Linked DNA regions of Homo sapiens: region 2 is linked to region 1. Evidence: promoter capture Hi-C in human tissues and cell types (Jung and others, 2019). All regions are on one chromosome and are shown on one strand. Each heading gives the region's core, a stretch centred on a gene start or on the middle of the fragment in contact. The rest is flanking DNA. Distances are from core to core; before and after follow the strand shown.

Evidence for each region. The method cuts DNA at HindIII sites, captures the fragments that hold promoters and counts their contacts. A contact is called where the count stands out against the background at its distance.
Region 2: a fragment that was not itself captured here is called in contact with the fragment with the promoter of HNRNPM in region 1 in 1 of the 25 tissues and cell types used here (psoas muscle).

Annotation. Positions count from the first base shown.
Region 1 is chr19:8,443,611-8,446,956 of GRCh38, forward strand. HNRNPM (heterogeneous nuclear ribonucleoprotein M) reads left to right here and starts at 1,365. Exons shown (of 16, transcript NM_005968.5): 1 at 1,365-1,501. The coding sequence starts at 1,389. RefSeq lists silencers at 1,124-1,403, 1,644-1,873. The HindIII fragment of the contact is 5,541 bases long and covers 1-3,346 here.
Region 2 is chr19:8,594,534-8,597,957 of GRCh38, forward strand. ADAMTS10 (ADAM metallopeptidase with thrombospondin type 1 motif 10) reads right to left here. Exons shown (of 26, transcript NM_030957.4): 7 at 2,701-2,784; 8 at 2,454-2,599; 9 at 2,009-2,052; 10 at 1,774-1,879; 11 at 1,540-1,686; 12 at 1,229-1,370. Among named protein-coding and RNA genes, the nearest start is that of ADAMTS10, 14 kb to the right of the region's middle. The HindIII fragment of the contact is 8,071 bases long and covers 1-3,424 here.

The DNA of each region.
Region 1 (3,346 bases), core at 115-2,614:
TTATGCAACATTGCAAGAGTCCTCTCGCTCTTTATTATTATTTTTAATTTTTTTGAGATGGGGTCTCACTCTGTGACCAGGCTGGAGTGCAGTGGCCCGATCTTGGCTCACTGCAACCTCCTCCTCCTGGGTTGAAGCGATTCTCCTGCCTCAGGCTCCCCAGTAGCTGGGATTATGGGCGCCTGCCACCACACCCGGCTAATTTTTGTATTTTTAGTAGAGACAGGGTTTCATCATGTTGGCCAGGATGGTCTGATCTCTTGACCTCGTGATCCACCCGCCTTGGCCTCTCAAAGTGGTAGGATTACAGGCGTGAGCTGCCGCGCCCAGCCATTAATTTTTTTTTTAATTTTGTTTTTAACTTTTAGGTTTGGGGGTAAATGTGAAGGTTTGTTAAATAGGTAAACACTTGTCATGGAGGTTTGTTGTACAGATTATTTCATCACCCAGGTATTAAGCCCAGTACTCAATACTTATCTTTTTGTTTTTTGAGATGGAGTCTCAGTCTATCTCCCAGGCTGCGGTGCAGTGGCGTGATCTCGGCTCACTGCAACCTCCGGCTCCTGGGTTCAAGCGATTCTCCTGCTTCAGCCTCCCGAGTAGCTGGGATTACAGGCGCCCGCCACCACGTCCAGCTAATTTTTTTATTTTTAGTAGAGACGCGGTTTCACCATGTTGGCCAGTCTGGTCTCGAACTCCTGACCTCAGGTGATCCGCCGCCTCGGCCTCCCATACCCAAAGTGCTGGGATTACAGGAGTGAGCCATCGCGCCTGGCCCCATTATTAGTGAATTTTAACAGTTTTCCGTTTCTTCTGGACGAACTGTTTGCAATTATAATGCGAATTACGGATAATACTCTGATATTATTCCATGCCGTTCCGTTGTTGCCTACAAAGTTCGCGCTGGAGAACCGCGCAATTGCGTTACAAAAAGAAAAAAATCACACAAAAAGACACAATGTTTTAAGAAAGTTTACGAATCGTGTGCCGGACCGCGGGTTGAACAAGCTTCATCTAAAACTTCCAGGAATCTCTAGACAGGATCATTGCTTCCCCTCTGCTCCAGCTCTGGTTACAGAAAGCTGAGAGTGACTAGGTCTAGGTGTTTGTGTGGGGTGGGGTGGGGAGATGCCTCCTCTATCGGACTCAGAGGACGCGCGCCGGGAACAGCCAGTCGGTGCCTAACGCGAGTGTATCTCGAGAGAGAAGCGATCAACAGCTGCCGGTCTGCGCCTGCGCGCGGCGGGGGCGTGGCCCGGGGCGAGTGGGGCCAAGGAGGCAGCCGGGAGCGGCGGGCGCAGGTGTTACTGGTTGCGTCGGGTCACGTGGGCGCGCAGGCGCAGCGCGGTGCAGCCCGTTCGCTCACACAAAGCCCAGACGCGGAGAAAATGGCGGCAGGGGTCGAAGCGGCGGCGGAGGTGGCGGCGACGGAGATCAAAATGGAGGAAGAGAGCGGCGCGCCCGGCGTGCCGAGCGGCAACGGGGCTCCGGGCCCTAAGGGGTGAGTATCCCACGGTCCTTTGCCACGGGTAAGGGTTCCTCTCCGCGGCCGACGCGGGCGGCGGCTCCGTTAGGTCTGTTGGCGGCCTAGCCCCGGCGCGGCCTCGGCCCCGGCTGTTCCCGTACCGCCTGCTCAGGGTAGCGGCGTCTAGGGCCGTGAGCGGGGAGCCGGGGGAGCCTCCAGAATCGTCCCCTACACCGGGCCTCGAGCCTCGCCACCCTCAGTCCCTCCAGGCCGGGGCCAACCCCGTAGTCGAGGCCTCAGGCCCAGCTGCTGCGCATGGGGGTTGATGGCGCGGGCCCGGACCGGAGAGCCTCCGAGGCCTACCCGACCGCTCCCCGGGAGGGTGACCTCGGGGGCCGGGTTTCAGCCCCCCGTCCCCTCTCCTCCCGGGGTCTGTTTTCTGATCCGTAACGTGGGGGGAGGAGAGAGGGTGCGCGCCCGGGAGGCCTCGCGCGCAGTCAGCCCGAGTCAACGGTAACCGAGCGAGGGAAGCGTCAGGAAGGGCCGCGAAGCCGGGTCGGGGGGCTCCCCTCCTGCCCCGCCCCTTAGTCCCCGCGCGCCGACCGCGCTCCGCGGGAAGTGCCTCCCTCGGAACCGCCCCTCGCCCCACGCTCTGGCCCTGGCTCAAGTCCCTCGCCGTTTCCCGCTCCTCCTCCCCGGGTGCGCCGCAGGTATTAGTGGAGAGATGGGATCTGCTGCTTAGCGTTCACCCTCGGAAGCAGACAGATACGAAGTCGGGGGAGGAATCCCCTTTTTCCCGTGTTTCGGGGAAGCTGTTCTGTCAGGAGGCGGGTTCATTTACTTCCAGACTTCATCAGCTTTTCGAGTCCTGCTTGGGGCTCTTTGACTCCTTGGCTTTTAAAAGTTTCTTTAAAGGAGGAAGCATCGACTTGTGCCCCGGTGAAACTCATTCATTCTGATTACAGACACTTAAGAGAGACAGAGAGGTTTTGGCTCCAAGATCAGCGGCCGGGAAGGAAGGGGAAGCCTGGGTACACATTGAATTTCCCAGACATTTATTTCATTGTGGTAAAATAGACATAACGTAGACTTTGCCATTTTAACCATTTTTTAAGCGTATAATTCAGTGGCATTGAGTATACTGACTCAGTGTGCTGTAACCGTCACTGCTTCATGTCCAGAACTTTTTCATCATCGGAAACAGAAAGTGTAGCTATTAAATACTAACTCCCTCCGTTTTCTTTCCTTTCTGTCTGTGACTTTGCCTTCCTCATATTGTAATGTGTGAAGCTTAGTTTATGGAGATTAAAAGTGAATGCGGTTGAGCACTTATATATTTAATTTTTTTCTTTGAGACAGGGTCTCCCTCTGTTACCCAAGCTGGGATGCAGTGGCACGATCACAGATCACTGCAGCCTCGAACTCCTGGGCTCAATCGATCCTTCCATCTCAGCCTCCTGAGTAGCTGGGATCACAGGCGCGGCACCACCATGCCCGGCTAATTTTTTGAAGAGAGGAGGTCTCCGGGTGTTGCCCAGGCTGGTCTGAAACTCCTGGGTTCAAGCCATCCTCCTGCCTAGGCCTTCCAAAGTGCTGAAGTTACAGGCATGAGCTACTGCGCCCTGCCTAGTTGAGCGCTTAGGTTAAGAACGTTCCCTAAGTGCTAGCTATATTGGTAGATAATAAATCCGGAGAAAATTCCAGATTCTTTCCCTCCTTAAGTAGGGAGAAATAAAATACCATGGTTACTGGCCCTTAGAAATGAGAAAAACTTCCTCTATTCCCAGCATTTTACTATTGAAAACTCTGGGAAGGAATGTGTTAATTTTGACTTTTTCAGCGTCTATCTACGGAAGCTGGTAGGATTTCTGAGGGTGGTAT
Region 2 (3,424 bases), core at 393-2,892, 150 kb after region 1:
TTGATATTTTGACAGCTCCTCCCCTCCCCTGCCCCTTTGTAAAATTTAGAGAGTCATGAGAGACCTGGATTTAAATCCCAGCTCTGTCATGGTCTCAAACTGTGGCCTTGGACAAGTCATCCTCCCTATGCTATGGCTCAGTCCCTTCCTCTGTAACGTGGGGGCTAGCAGGATTGTCAGGAGTTTAGATGGTGACACACAGCACATGCTTAGCCCATAGTGAGAGCTCAGTAAATGTCAGACACCATGATCATTGTTAGGATACCTGGGTCACAGCAGATGTTGAGGAGTAGCTTCAGAATTCTTTAGGAATTCCTTAGAGGGTGCTGCAGTTACCAGCTAAGTTAGGATGTTGGGGGGTGTCAAGGGTGGAATGTCAGTGAAATAGAAATTGTTCCAGGGTTTGTCTCTGTCTTGCAGTGGAATGAAGGGAGGGCAATTTGGCAGCTGCTTGCCCTCTGCTTTGCATTAACATGGCATCACAAAAACTCTGATCGTTTGAGTTGTGATAGTGTGAAGAACTGGGGCTGAACCTGGGCCCCTAGGGCTGAGACTGTGAGGAGCTTAGGGGTGCATTTAGGGAATCGAGGCAGGTGGGCAGAGGAGGAGCAGATCCTGGCTGAACCTTGGTGGCTGAAGCAGGAAGCCAGCAGGTCTTCAGCTTCCTGGGGGGAGCTGGGAGTGGAACCTCCTGCCCCCCAATGCCCTTCTCTATGCACGAATGGGGCTTTGGGAATCTAAACCTCAGGAAAGGGTGGGGAGAGGTCAGGAGGCTCAGAGCTCCTCCAGACAGGGAGTCCCTGGAAGGTTCTGTCTAGTTCTTTGCCAAGTAGGAAAGATGGCTCATCCCCAGGGAAATTATTTCCGTCAGGACTGGATGTTTAGTTAAAAACTGCCCCGTGAGAGGTCTTGAGACTTTGATCCTGCTGTAGCCCACAGGGGGTGTGATGTGCCAGACAGAAGCTGGCCCCCCAGCCCAGCCCTCAAATCAGGGGTCTGGAGAAGCAGGTGATCCCATTTTTGTTCCCAAGCACTGTCTGATTGCTTAGGACATTTTGCACACTCCATGCACCTCTGTCCTCCCAGGTCACCATGGGGGCTCACCTCACCCCCCTTCCCGGTTCTCCCACCCCCTCACTTCCCAGGTGGGTGCCCTGGTGGAGTTCCCTCCCCCAGCCCCAGCGGCCCCCTCCCCTCCCAGGAAGGAAAGCAGGAAGACTCTCTCTACCCCGTATTTACACTGACGCGATTTGACTCCATGCTGAAAGCGGCATTGCTCATCTGCATCGTAGGCTTGGCCCGGTGCCACTGTCGGGTACACAAAGTCCTGTCTGGGGGGCCGGTTGTTCAGGCAGAGCCCCAGGCCCGAGCTGCCTCGAGAGAAAAGCAACTGTCATGCTAGGTGGCTGCAAATCAAGAGCTCAGGAGCCTCAGCTGGATGGGGGTCCCAGGGAGCATCCCTGATTTCTATCGTCTCCCGTGTACCCTGCCCCACCATGAGTGTGACCCGCTCTGAGGGACACCCAGGTGCATCCTCACTCTAGAAAGCTGGTGATGTAGTCACGGCTGCAGGATGACCACACGAATGGGTTGGTCTTCATGGTAATGTGGGCAGCCATGAGCTTGGCTGGGTCCTGACCACGGGCCCCACAGCTGTTTCCCACGCCGTCATGGTTCATGCCGAATCTGGGGAAAGGGGTGTCGGCTCTGCCGGGCGCTGAGGGACCCGCCCAGCTCCTCCCCTCCTCCCCCTCTTGTGTGCCCTGGCCTCACGTGTGCCCGATCTCGTGGGCAATGGTGAACGCTGTGGCCAGGCCAATGTCCTCATTGACGCTGCAGCTTCTCTCGCGCTCACACATTCCGCCCACCGGGGCCAGGCCTGGGAAGACGGACATGTGGGGATGGGGCTGGGAGGCTCAGGACGGTGCTGGCTGGCCCCATCCACCTGCCAGGTCTCACCCCAGCCCACTGCCTTCATAGGCGCCTGAAACCTACGGGGCTCGGGTACCTAGTGTGCCGCAGGGTTTGTTCTTGTAGATGCAGATGTCATAGCTGTAAAAGGAGACAGGGTCAGTGAGGGGGCTGGGCTGTCTCCCTAAGCCCTGCTGATGCCACCATGCCCAGCTCTGGGGGTTGAGTCCTGCCTTGGAGGCGCCATCTGCCTCTCACCTGAAGCTGCATACAGGAGTGACTGACCACATGAATGAATGAATGCATGCATGCATGCATGAGTGGGAGAATAAGTGAATGAGGGCATCGGTGCCCAAATGGTCCCAAACCTCCCTTACCCATTATTCTCAAGCAGCCCCTCCCCATCCCTGGCTCCCTCATGGGCAGCCCAAACTTCTCTGCTCCTCCTGACCCTAGCAGAAGTGATCTCTGTTTGGACTCTCATGGTTCCCTGGACCATCTGTTTTCTCAGCCCCAGTCCTAGACCTCTCCTGTCCCCTCACCGTGTGATGAGCACTGCTGTGTCATGGTTAGCCACACCGTTCTCTGGAATGGCATTGCCATGGCCGCTGTGGTTCACGATGGATTTCTGCCACTTACAGAAGCTGTCCAGGGACTTCCCGGCATGGTGGGTGATCTCCAGAGTGGGCTGGGGATGGACAGAGGGAAATGCATGGGCACCCACCACCCAGGGGACGGCAGGACATGCTGGTATGAAGGGGAAGGGGAAGGGGAGGAAGTCCCCCGCACCTGGTCCTCCGTGAGCAGGATGAGGCGAGTTACGAGGATGTTAACGGTGCTTCCCAGACTCGAGTCCTGGAAAAGTTTGGCAACCTGACCTCCAAGAAACAAGAGAGACCGAGTCTTAAGAGGAGCCCAGGGTAGAAAATGAAAAGCAAAAACAATGATAACAGCTTGCTTTCATCAGGCACCTACTGTGTGTCGGGTCTTAGGCTAAACCTGCTATTAGGGTTTTTTGTTGCTGTTGTTGTTAAAGATGGGGGTCTTGGTATGTTGCTCAGGCTGGTCTTGAACTCCTGACCTCAAGTGATCCTCCTGCCTGGCCTCCCATAGGGCTGGGATTACAGGTGTGAGCCACCATGCCCAGCCATGTATCAGTCTTTTCATGAATAGGTAATATTTGCTGTTGTTACTATTTGTTGTTGTTGTTTTTTGAGATGGAGTCTCGCTCTGTTGCCCAGGCTGCAGTGCTGCGGTGCAATCTCAGCTCACTGTAACCTCCACTTCCCAGGTTCAAATGATTCTACTGCTTCAGCCTCCCAAGTAGCTGAGACTATAGGCGCACATCACTATGCCCACTTAATTTTTTTTTTTTTGAGACAGAGTTTTGCTCTTTTTGTCTAGGGTGGAGTACAATGGTGTGATCTCAGCTCACTGCAACCTCCGCCTCCTGGGTTCAAGCGATTCTCCTGCCTCAGCCTCCCGAGTAGCTGGGATTACAGGCGTGAGCCAC